Regions from separate parts of the Homo sapiens genome. Here regions 2 and 3 are each linked to region 1. Evidence: promoter capture Hi-C in 16 types of primary human blood cells and fetal thymus (Javierre and others, 2016). All regions are on one chromosome and are shown on one strand. Each heading gives the region's core, a stretch centred on a gene start or on the middle of the fragment in contact. The rest is flanking DNA. Distances are from core to core; before and after follow the strand shown.

The links. Contacts are between HindIII fragments. The CHiCAGO score rates a contact against its expected background, and 5 or more counts as called.
Region 2: a fragment that was not itself captured here is called in contact with the fragment with the promoter of RBM6 in region 1 in 1 of 17 cell types (erythroblasts); the score reaches 6.0 in erythroblasts.
Region 3: a contact is called between a fragment that was not itself captured here and the fragment with the promoter of RBM6 in region 1, in 2 of 17 cell types (M2 macrophages and M1 macrophages). The highest score is 5.2, in M2 macrophages.

What each region holds. Positions count from the first base shown.
Region 1 is chr3:49,938,145-49,942,276 of GRCh38, reverse strand. RBM6 (RNA binding motif protein 6) reads right to left here and starts at 2,127. Exons shown (of 21, transcript NM_005777.3): 1 at 2,052-2,127. RefSeq lists a silencer at 1,697-1,896 and enhancers at 1,453-1,974, 2,037-2,096, 2,127-2,176, 2,207-2,266, 1,975-2,497. The HindIII fragment of the contact is 18,872 bases long and covers 1-4,132 here.
Region 2 is chr3:49,508,942-49,513,073 of GRCh38, reverse strand. DAG1 (dystroglycan 1) reads right to left here. Exons shown (of 3, transcript NM_004393.6): 2 at 2,255-2,655. The coding sequence starts at 2,539. Among named protein-coding and RNA genes, the nearest start is that of DAG1, 41 kb to the right of the region's middle. The HindIII fragment of the contact is 500 bases long and covers 1,674-2,173 here.
Region 3 is chr3:49,567,538-49,571,669 of GRCh38, reverse strand. All of the region lies in intron 1 of BSN (bassoon presynaptic cytomatrix protein), which reads right to left. Among named protein-coding and RNA genes, the nearest start is that of BSN, 15 kb to the right of the region's middle. The HindIII fragment of the contact is 2,990 bases long and covers 312-3,301 here.

The DNA of each region.
Region 1 (4,132 bases), core at 878-3,377:
ACCTCGTGATCCGCCCACCTCGGCGTCCCAAAGTGCTGGGATTACAGGCGTGAGCCACCGTGCCTGGCTGAATTGTATACTTAACAATGGTTTAAAGAGCAAATTTTGTTAAAATATACATAAACATACATAAAAATATATATTTACCACAATTTATTTAATTGATTTTTTTTTTTTTGAGACAGTCTTGTTCTGTGGCCCAGGTTGGAGTGCAGTGGCACTATCTCCCCTTACTACAACCTCTACCTCCCCGGCTCAAGCGATTTTTCCATCTCAGCCTCCTGAGTAGTTAGGGCTAACAGGAGCATGCCACCACGCCTGGCTAATTTTTTTTTTTTGTATTTTTTGTAGAGACAGGGTTTTGCGATGTTGCCCAGGCTCACAATTTGTTTTAGAAATACTATAACAGGGCCGGGCACGGTGGCTCACGCCTGTAATCCCAGCACTTTGGGAGGCCAAGGCAGGTGGATCACCTGAGGTCAGTAGTTCAAGACCAGCCTGGCCAACATAGCGAAACTCCGCCTCTACTAAAAAAATACAAAAAATTAGCTGGGCATAAGGCGAAACGCTGCCTCTACTATGTTGGTTTTTGTTGAGTTTTGCGGGTTTTTTTTTTTTTTTTTTTTTTTTTTTTTTGAGACAGAGTTTCACTCTTGTGGCCCAGGCTGGAGTGCAATGGAGCAATCTCAGCTCACCGCAACCTCCGCCTCCCAGGTTCAAGCGATTCTCCTGCCTCAGCCTCCCAAGTAGCTGGGATTACAGGCATGTGCCACCATGCCCGGCTAATTTTGTACTTTTAGTAGAGACGCGGTTTCTCCATGTTAGTCAGGCTGGTCTCGAACTCCCCACCTCAGCCTCCCAAAGTGCTGGGATTACAGGTGTGAGCCACCAGGCTCGGCCTGGTAATAGAATTCTATAAGGAAAGGTGCTACAACTATCCAGAGAGACCTGGGACCTGTCCTGCAGGTTAGGTATCTAGTTAGATGCTAGTTTCTGAGACAAGGTTCAAATTCAACTTTTGTGTTTCACCAAAATGGTAACATATTATTTAGTTACTTTCTTCACTGCCAGTCCTACCATCACGCACCAGCTCTTGACACCTCTCGTTAGAGACCTCACAAATTCAGTAATGGTGACATATTTAAATCATTCACGCTGGTGGCATTTCTCAATAGGAAGGTGGAAACTAGCAAGCCGAGGGCACAATCCAGGGTTCAGAAAATGAACCAGGTGACCATGTCTGCATGTCTACTGAACTCCTTCACTTAAATCCGGCTACTCTGACCTTCACAAGCAAACCTGGAATATGCAAAAAATACAATTACGCTCACGGTTTATGTACCCTACGAAACAGGGCCCTTCCTTCAAAAAAAAAAAAAAAAAAAAGGCATTCCCAAAGTTGAACCCATTCGCCTAACGTCAATTCTAAAATAAAGAGAAAAACATCTATTTACACCGCTAATGGAATCTAAAGCGTGAATACGATAAAACATCCTTCTCCTTCATTGCCTAACGGGCGCAGAACCCACCAGACCACTCTCCCGCTTCCAGGTTCTACCGCCCCGACGACCGGGCTCGGAGCTCTTGTGCCCTCCGGTCCAGCGGAGCCTCCCTTGTGTCTGTCCAAGTCTGAGGACGAGGCTACGTGCTAAGCACAAGAGCTCCCTTCCTAGTGATGCCACAGAATTGGATCTGAAACAGGAAAACCGCAAGAACAGCCCGCTTACAGCTCCGAAGAGTAGGAGCACAGAGCCGCAACCACGCGCCGGCCCCAGCCTCACAGCTGGCCGCTCCGCGGCGGGACCGGTAATCTACTGCCGCGCCGGGCCCCGCCCCAGGCCCGCGACGGTTCCGGGGCGTTCCTGCCACGGGCGGCGCCTCCCTCATCTCACCGTTGCTTGGTCTTCTTCCCGAGCGAGGCCGCAGCCGCCCCGCGACACTGAAGCCACAGCTTTCAGGCTGCGCGGGCCTGCGATGTCTAGAGCGGGCCTGTCTGCTGGCTATTCCCTGGCAGGCTCTGGCACGCCTCCCCTCCAGTCCCGGGCCCTTACCTAGGCGGCGAAGCCTCCACGGCCCGCTCCTCCTTCTCCTCAGCCTCCGCCACCGACCCAGCGCCGCGGACACCGGAACTTCCTCCGCGCGGGGCCACTGCTACCACAAAGGCGCCGCGCCGCTGCCTTCAGCGCTCGGCCCGCTGGGAGATGAAGTACAGCTGCCGGTCCCGCAGACTCTTACTCCCGCCGTGCCCCGCGCGCAGGGGACTTGCCTTCTGGGGTGGGTCGTAAGAGCACGCTGTCCATCGCCATCCAATAAGAAGGCGCGCTTACCCGCCCTACTCCGCGTGACCTGCTGGGAGTTGTGGTTTGGCCTCTGCCCTGTGACACCTGGTCCTCTTGTGCTTTCCTCTCAGTTGATTGAGGCTTACAGTTTTTTGGTGGCTTGACTTTCCTGAGGTTTGCTCCCTGCCAGCAGCTCGGGTACGGCCCTGGCCTGCCTAGCTCGAGGCCTCCTTATTGTCCGTTAGTGTGAGAGAAATGGAAGGGAGCTTCTTCGGGAGTAAGTTTAAGCCATCTCCAGCTGGTTGGCGGGGCGCGGTGGCTCACGCCTGTAATCCCAGCACTTTGGTAGGCCGCGGCGAGTGGACCACCTGAGGTCAGGAGTTCTAGACCAGCCTGGCCAACATGGTGAAACCCCATCTCTACCAAAAATACAAAAATTACCCGGGCTTGGTGGCAGGTGCCTGTAATCCCAGCTACTCGGGAGGCTGAGGCAGGAGAATCACTTAAACCCGGGAGGCAGAGGCAGAGGTTGCAGTGAGCCGACACTGTGCCACTGCACTCCAGCCTGGACAATAGAGCAAGACTCCACCTCAGAAAAAAAGAAAGAAAGAAAAAGGCCGGGCGCAGTGGCTCATGCTTGTAATCCTAGCACTTTGGGAGGCCGAGGTGGGTGGATCACGAGGTCAGGAGTTCAAGACCAGCCTGGCCAAGATAGTGAAACCCCATCGCTACTAAAAATACAAAAAGTAGCCAGGCGTGGTGGCGCATGCCTGTAATCCCAGCTACTCAGGAGGCTGAGGCAGAGAATTGCTTGAACCCGGGAAGCACAGGTTGCAGTGAGCCGAGATCGCGCCACTGCACTGTTGCCTGGCAACAGCGCAAGACTCCGTCTCAAAAGAAAGAAAGAAAGAAAGAAGTTGGGCGCAGTGGCTCACGACTGTAATCCCAGCACTGTGGGAGGCCGAGGCGGGTGGATCACGAGGTCAGGAGATCAAGACCATCCTGGCTAACACGATGAAACCCTGTCTCTACTAAAAACACAAAAAATTAGTGGAGCGTGGTGGCGGGCACCTGTAGTCCCAGCTACTCAGGAGGCTGAGGCAGGAGAATGACGTGAACCCGGGAGGCGGAGCTTGCAGTGAGTCGAGATAGCGCCACTGCACTCCAGCCTAGGCGACAGAGGGAGACTGTCGCAAAAAAAAAAAAAAATTACCCGGGCTTGGTGGCAGGCGCCTGTAATCCCAGCTACTCGGGAGGCTGAGGCAGGAGAATCACTTAAACCCGGGAGGCAGAGATTGCAGTGAGCCTAGACTGTGTCACTGCACTCCAGCCTGGACAATAGAGCAAGACTCCGTCTCAGAAAAAAGGAAAGAAAGAAAGAGGCCGGGCGCAGTGCCTCACGCTTGTAATCCTAGCACTTTGGGAGGCCGAGGCGGGTGGATCACGAGGTCAGGAGTTCAAGACCAGTCTGGCCAAGATGGTGAAACCCCGTCTCTACTAAAAATACAAAAATTACCCGGGCGTGGTGGCGCATGCCTGTAATCTCAGCTACTCAGGAGGCTGAGGCAGAGAATTGCTTGAACCCGGGAGGCGGATGTTGCCGTGAGCCGAGATCGCGCCACTGCACTCCAGCCTCACAACAGAGCAAGACTCCGTCTCAAAAAAGAAAAAGAAAGAGGTTGGGCGCAGTGGCTCACGCTTGTAATCCCAGCACTTTGGGAGGCCGCGGCGGGCGGATCACGAAGTCAGGAGATCGAGACCATCCTGGCTAACACGGTGAAACCCTGTCTCTACTAAAAATACAAAAAATTAGCCGAGCGTGGCGGCAGCCGCCTGTAGTCCCAGCTACTGGG
Region 2 (4,132 bases), core at 674-3,173, 430 kb after region 1:
CAAGCTGGTTGAGTTAAACCACTGTTTTGGTGGTTTAAACACACCAACAGAAAGCCAGAGCACTAAATGTATGTAGAAGTCTGAATGCAGAGATCATACAGAAAATACCTAACAAAGTATAGGTCTCAGAATACTTTTAGTTCACATGTAGGCCACACCTCTAGAGAAGGAATGCTGTAGGGCAGGAACCAGAAGTTTGAGACCAGCCTGGCAGACAGAGTAAGACCCTATCTAAAAAAAATTTTTTGTAACTAATTTTTGTATTTTTTGTAGAGTTGGGGTTTCACCATGTTGCCCAGGCTGGTCTCAAACTCCTGGGCTCAAGCAATCTGCCTCCCTCAGCCTCCCAAAGTGCTAGGATTACAGGTGTAAGTCATCACGCCCAAACTAAAAAAAAATTTTTTTTTAATTAGCTGGGTGTTGCGAGGCTGAGGCAGACAGATCACCCGAGATAAGGAGTTTGAGACCAGCCTGGCCAACATGGTGAAACCCCGTCAGTACTAAAAATACAAAAATTAGCCGGGCATGGTGGTGCGCACCTGTAATCCCAGCTACTTGGGAGGCTGAGGCAGGAGAATCACTTGAATCTGGGAGATGGAGGTTGCAGTGAGCTGAGATTGTGTCATTGCATTCCAGCTTGGGTGACAGAGAGAGACTTCATCTCAAAATTAATTAATTAATTAAAATAAATTAAAATTTAAAAATTAGCTGGGCGTGGTGACGTGCGCCTGTAATCCTAGCTACTGAGGAGGCTGAGGCAGGAGAATCACTTGAACCCAGGAGGCGGAGGTTGCAGTGAGCCAAGATTGTGCCATTGCACTCCAGCCTGGGCGACAAGAGCGAAACTCTGTCTCAAAAATAAATAAATAAATAAATTAGCTGGGTGTGGTGGTGCACACCTGTAGTCCCAGCTACTTGGGAGGCTGAAGAGGGAAGAAGGCTTAAGCCTGGGAGGTTAAGGCTGCAGAGAGCCATGGCTGTACCACTGCACTCCAGCCTGAACAACAGAGCAAGACCCTGCCTCAAAAAAAAAAATTGTAAAAGAATATTTCTTTCTTGACATATGAAATTCAAAAATCTGTTTCAAGTCAGAATGGGACTATAAGTGTAAAAAATTAAAAAAGAAAAAGTATCCACCGTAAAGTTTTATTGCCCATTGATTTATATATTGTAAAGGCTACTTTAACACTACACAGGCAGAGTCGAGGAGTTCTGACAGAAACCATATGGCCTGCAAAGCCTAAAATATTTACTGCCTGGAGCTTGGTGCAGTGGTGCATGCCTGCAATCCCAGCACTTTGGGAGGCCAAGGCAGGAAGATGGCTTGAGCTCAGGAGTTCAAGACTAGCTTGAGCAACATGACAAAACCCTATCTCTACAAAAAGTACAAAAATTAGCCAGGTGTGCTGATATGTGCTTATAGTCCCAGCTACTTGGGAGGCTGAGGTGGGAGGATCACTTGAGCCTGGGAGGTCAAGGCTACAGTGAGACATGATCATGCCAGTGCACTCCAGCTTGGGTGAAGTGTGCTGACTTCTGCTCTAGAAGATGTTCATAACTTGAGGGGTACATCCCACCCACCTGTCCATGAAACAAACTCATTTAAGATCTAGGGGAAATTCCATGGTTCCACAAACTCAGACAGAGAGATGGTGCTTCATCACACAAAAGCTTCCTATTTCACCTGATTTCTATCCTGGGTCAACCAAGACACTCTTCTCTACACGGGCCTCAGATTCCATTGTTCTCTGGATGGCTTCTCCAAAGGATATGGGGCAAGGCTGAAGTTTGGGTACTAATTTTGGTTCTTAAGTGATCAATTACATTAGCCAACATACATCAGCAAATCAGAGCAGAACTCCTATATTTATTTATATCTTATTTTAAAAAGTAAGTTCAAAGCATAAAAGTCCTATTTTTTGGGGTTTAACTCTGTGTTTTATTAAAGGTAACCTTTCCCTATACACGTGACAGACCTTTCCAACAAATCCCTAAATCAGTGTTCAGTAGAACTTCCAGAGTAAAGGCTATTACATGGTGATGCCCTCAGAATAGGAACAAGAATACAGTTTAGGATGCTATTCTGAGTATATAGGGATTCTCTTATGAACATCAGTGGCTGTCCCTCTTCTAAGGGGGTACTGGAAGAACTGAGCTCAGAATTGGTGAAGCTTAGACTTGAAAAGGAAAAGCCACCAAAACTAAAATGGAAAATGAGAACTCTTCCTCATTTATGCTTTATATCCAGTCTCACCTTGATGATATCTCCACTGGAGGCAATCAAATCTGTTGGAATGGTCACTCGAAATGAGCGCCCGACGACAGCCGTGCCATCAGGAATGCCAACCACTGTGGGAACAGCCTCGTGGAGGTCTGAGAGCACTGAGTGCATGGATGCCTCAAGCTGGTTTTCCCAGTCCCTGACAGCCTCTGAGGGTTCACTGGGCCAGTGGGACTGAGCCATAACCACAGAGAGCAGGAGGAGAAAGGTCCTCCCCGAGAGGGGCAGCAGCAGCGAGAGGCCCACAGACATCCTCATCCCAGGTCCAAGTTTGCTCAAGTCGATAGTCTTGCTAAGTAAGGAAGCAAGTGACTTGGTCCCAGAGCTGGGTTCTCACCCTCTGCACACCTGCTCCATCCCGGAGCACACAGAGCCTGAAAAAAAAAGAAAAGCAGGTTTAGACTTGAGCAATTCCAGTGGTTCAGTCACATACTATCCTCCAGGAGTTACTGTCAAAAACATCTACCCCGAGTTGGATCAAGCCTCTTACCCCCATGGTCTCTTATACAGAAACCAACAGTTTCGTGCAACTCCTTAGCACTGGAAATGTAGCTGATCCATTAAATATAAAATATACACTGGATTTTGAAAACTTCATAAAAAATGAATGTAAAATGCCTCATTAATACTTTTAAAATATTGATTGCAAACTGAAATGATATGTATTAGTAATATTTTGAATACAGTCAGATACATTCAATAAAATATATTAAGTAAACAATAAGTATTAACAAAGAATAAATAATAAAGAAATGTATTAAACAAGACGGGCACCGTGGCTCACGCCTATGATCCTGGCATCTTGGGAGACTAGGGTGGGTGGATGACTTGAGGTAAGGAGTTTGAAACCAGCCTGGCCAACATGGTAAAATCCCATCTCTACTAAAAATATGAAAATTAGCCGGGCATGGTGGTGGGTGCCTGTAATCCCAGCTACTGAGGAAGCTGAGGCAAGAGAATCACTTGAACCCGGGAGGTGGAGGTTGCAGTGAGCCGAGATTGCACCACTGCACTCCAGCCTGGGTGACAGAGTGAGACTCGACCTCAAAAAAAAACAATAAAATATTAAGTAAAATATATGATTGAAATTAATTTAATCTGCTTTTCTTCATGTGGCTACCAGGAAAATTTAAGTGACATATGTGGCTCATGTTATATTTCTGTTGGGTGGCACTGCTTTAGACCTAACTTCCAATTTACAGGAAATATGGGAGCTATGCAAAGAAAATCACACAAATCTAGAATGTGGGATCTTCTGCCAAACAACTGGCCTGGTCTCTCCAAATGCTGACATCCCTAAACATAAGATGACTGTTCTCGATTTAGAGACAGCAACCAGACTTGATGTGTGTATCTTTCTAGGGGTAGGGGAGTGGGGACAGAGAAGGTTCTTGCTCTGTGGCCCAGGATAGAGTACAGTGTCATGTTCATAGCTCAATGTAACCTTGAACTCCTGGGCTCAAGTAAATAGCTGGGACTTCAGGTGCACACCACTCCACTCAGCTAGTTTTTAAAAATCTTTTGTACAGACAGTGTCCCACTATGCTGCCCAGGCTGGCCTCAAACTCTTGGCCTCAAGTGATCCTCTCACCTCAGTCTCCCAGGATTAGAAAGGTAAGCAATCTTGCCCAGACAATGTGTATCTCTTGACTGGATTCTGGATTTACTTTTTAAAAAAACCCATGAGTCCAGCTCCCAAAGGGGTAATTGAGGAATTTTGCGTGTAAACTGGAAATGGGATTTACTGTTATTTTTCTTAGGTGATATGATGGTAGTAAGACTCTATAGGGAATCATCCTCAATCTTATGAATTGTATTTTGAAGTACTTAGGGATGAAGTGTCAAACACTC
Region 3 (4,132 bases), core at 557-3,056, 370 kb after region 1:
AACAATCTCTGTCCTCATTCCCTACTATACCCTGAGGCCTCTGGGGCCTGGCTCAGAGTGAGTGCACTACCAAAGTGGGCTGTTCCAAGTAGTCTCACTGTGGCAGAGGCTTTGCCACCAAACTCCATCCTATGAGTCCTGGGCTCTTCTGGCCCTGGAGCCTTATACCCCAAAGCTACTTGAAGCTGCCCACCCCCGTCTCCCCAACCCCAGTCTACTCTACCCAGAGGCCTGTGCCCTGCAACAGGGGCAGGAAGTATGCCATTCTTACCCACTGGATGCCCTGACCCTTCACTGGACACATGAAAGCTTTCTTATTCCAAAGTAGCCAGGGAGATTCACCAAGCAGAGGCTGGAGCTAGGAAACCCAGGCTCCTCTTCCCTGTCCTGCCCCTGACTTGCTGTGGGATGCTTGGAAATGCCCACTACCTCTCTGGAATTAGTATTTCCATCCCACCAGTGCTCTTAACTCTCTATTGGCCAGAGCTACACAGAATTAAAAAAAAAGCACAGTGTATTTTTAAAATTCCTCAGTTACTACTAAGTACTGTTACTATCTTTTCAAAAGCAATGCCTGTCGCTATCTGAACTTCTTGTTTTTTCCTGAGCCACTAGTAGGGACTAAGGAAAAGGAAGCTGAAGGAGTGTGACTGAGGCCCACATTCCCTGCCAAACTTTGCTGGAAGGCTCAGCTCTGGTACTCCTGGGGTCACTTCCACTCCATTTCACAGGCCTGGGAGCCCCAGAGTCAGTGTTCATGTGGGACTGCAGGTAGCACAGGATGCTTTCCAAAAAGGCAAAACTTCTAGTTTCCTCTTTCTTCTTGCCTCTGAAAACAAGTTATTTGCACTACCAGGCAGGCTCAGAGGAGTGAGCCTGGAAGGGGAGGTATTGCCTTGGCATTGGAAGGGAAGGTGTTGCCCCCAAGAGTCCCCACCAGGCTCTCTGGCTAATTTGAATACAGGGAGAACATGTTTGCTTTCCTCACTCAACACTCAGGGGTGTAGAGGTTTTTCTTTGTTTCTTACTATCTAGAAAAGGAGGTGATTGTGTAGCTCTGGCGTCTGCCCCTGGAACTTTGGATGGTCTTCCCAGGGCTCCTCACCCCCAACTGGGGGCCTGAGTAGGGACAGCACAGAGGCTGGTGCCTGCTGCTCTTCAGTCTCTGTTTCCACGGCTCAAACCAAAGTAAACAACAGAATGGCCATGTAGGTGCAAAGTACCAATGACAGCATGGACCCTTGGGTGGGCTCCAACACTCACCCTAATAAAGCTGGGGAGGAAGGGGCGGAGTGGAGGCAGGCAAAGTGGCAAACCGGGTCTGTTGGGAGCACCAGATCAAGCCTCCCTGTTCTGTCTGCTCCCTTCCTCCCTTTCTTCCACTGGCTTAGCCTGCATCATAGCTCCCCAAAAGTGCCCTGGCAGGAAACCCCCTTCTGACTCTGCTCTATGGGTGGTGTATCTTAGGCTGCCAGGCAATCAGTGCTAAGTACCATCATTTGCAAAAAGTGCTTTCAGCACAGGAGGGGAGCAGAGATGAGTGCTTGGCCATTGGGAAAGTCCTATTCCAGTCTGTTGGCTTCCGAGCCAGCTTCGTGTGCTACAGCCTGCATCCTGATCCCTAAGTCCAGAGAAATATACATCCCAAAGTCAAATTATGATATCTCTGCTCAGCTGCCCAACAGCAAATCACAACCCCAGAGCAGCAGCCCCAGACCTGGAACTCCCTCCCTCCTGCCCTCTTCCCAATACTCAAAATCTGTCAAGGGGCGCCTGTCCCACACGACTGTCACTCCAGCTGAAGGCCAACACCCTCCACCTGGCTTCATGAAGTTTACTGAACAGGAGTGAGGGCTAAAGAGTCAAAGTGACACTTTTCCTATAGTGAGAGACTTTTCTCTGTGGCTCTGGTGGCCTGAGCTTCATCTCTGACTAGCTGCAGATTCTAGAGCCAATAGAATGAGCCAGGCCTTTCAAGTGAACTGCCCAGTCTGAGCCTTAAATTCTATAATCTGTTTTAGCAGCTGTCTGTGAAGATGAGGATGGACGACAGTAGGCCCCTGAGCCCTCCAAGCGTCCCCCACTGAGTCAGAGCTCCCAGAGGTCAGGAACTATACCCTCAATCAAGTTTAACTCAAACATGATCTAGGGTAATAAATAAGGGCATAATCTACCTGTTCATCTTTCTATCCTCAGCCCTGGGCATGGAACCTGACATCAACTAGTAGGCACTTAATGGCAGGCCTCATGCTGAGTGCTTTCATTTCCAATGTTTCATTTGATAAGGTAAATATTTGTTTAATTGAATGCACTTGATTCACTCTCTTGGAACCCTAGTATTGCCTCAATTTCCTCCTCTCCCTTATCTCTTTTTCAGGGTACTTGTAGGAACCAGGTGGCATTAATATTAAAGCACTTGCAGGTGAAGTGCTACTTTATTTTTCCAACCCAGACTTGAATACCCAGCTGCCTACCTAACATCTCACTTGGGTGCCTCTAAAAAACAACTTGTCCAAGAACAAACTCCTGGTCTAGGCCCATTCCTCCTCCTCCCTGTGTACACCAGATGCCCAGGCCAAAACTCAGAGCTCCTCCTGACTCCTCTCTTCAACTCTTCACAGCCAACCATTCAGCAATCCTTCTGGCTCAATTTCCAGAATATATTCAGAAGTTGAGCACTTTTCATCACTCTTACTACTCAGCCCCTTCCCACCTCCCTGTCCTGCAAAACCCCGCACCCCACCATGATCATCCTCTCATGCCTGAATATTATTGCTTCTGCCTTTGGCTCTCAGTCTTAGCAACACAGAGAAAAACAACTTATACATTTACCATTTTGCTTCAGCAATCCTACTTCTAGGAAACTATCGCACAGACACACTGGTAAAATTACAAAATGCCACATTTTCCAGATTCCTCACTGTGCTTCTTTTTGTAAGAGCAAAAGACTGGACACAGCCCAATGTCCATAGATAAACCATGGCATATCCACATGGTGAGGCACAGTGCAGATGCAAAAAGGAATCAGGAGGATTTCTATATTCTGCTACAGGGTGATCTTCAAGATTGATTACATGGAAAAAAGCAAAGTACAGAAGAGTACTTAGAGTCTGCTACCTTTTACATAAAAAAGAAAGGTAAACAAATATATTTTTCCCTTAAATTTGCAAAAAGAAACAGTGGGAAAAATCTGATAAAAACTGTTTCTTATCAGAAAGGCAAAGAGAATAAAGTAGAGGGAACAAGATGGAATTAGACTTCTCTCAATATATCTTGTTTTATTTGGAATCATAGGAAAGCTTTATATAATTTTTAAAAATTAAATTTTAAAAAAGTACGGTATATGCCATTGTTGTTTTCAATTCTTTACTTTCCATCGATTTCTGTTCTCTGCCATGTGTCTTTGCAGTTCCTCCAACTAGAGGCAGAATATATTTTTTCCAGCTGTGGCAGACTGTATTTTCCAAAAATGGTCTCAGCAAGATTTCCAGTCCCACATGTACTGACAGAGTCCACGTCCCCTCCTTTTAAACCTAGGCAGGATCTTGTGACTGTGTTAGTAAACAGAATGTGGCAGAAGTGACACTGCATGTCTCTTAAGACTAAATCATAAAAGTCAGTACGGTCTTCCACCTGTCTCCCAACCCCTACCTTGCCCTCTCCCCACCCTTGGAACTCAGCAACCATGCTATGAGGCAGCCCAAATGAGCCCACATGGAGAAATCATATGGAGAAGCCCTGGGGCTCCCAGCTAACAGCCAGCATCGACTCTCAAACATATAATTGATGAGCCTTCAGAAGATTCTAATCTCTGGCCTTCAAGTCTTCCAGCTGAAACTCCAGACATTGTGAAGTAGAAACACACTCCATTCTACTGTGCTCTGCCCAAATTCCTGACCTGCAGAATCTGTGACCAGAATAGTGGCTGTTTTCCACTACTAAGTTTTGGGTTAACATGTTACACAGCCATAGTAACTGCAATACAACTCCTTGACTTGGGCTTAACCATGAATTGCTTGACTACAGGAATGTTAGCAGATGTGTCATCAGGTCAGAGGCTTGAAATGTGCTGTGAGGTTAGGCACACCCTCTTGTGTGTCTCTCATCTCCGTAAGAAGAACATGCCCCAGCT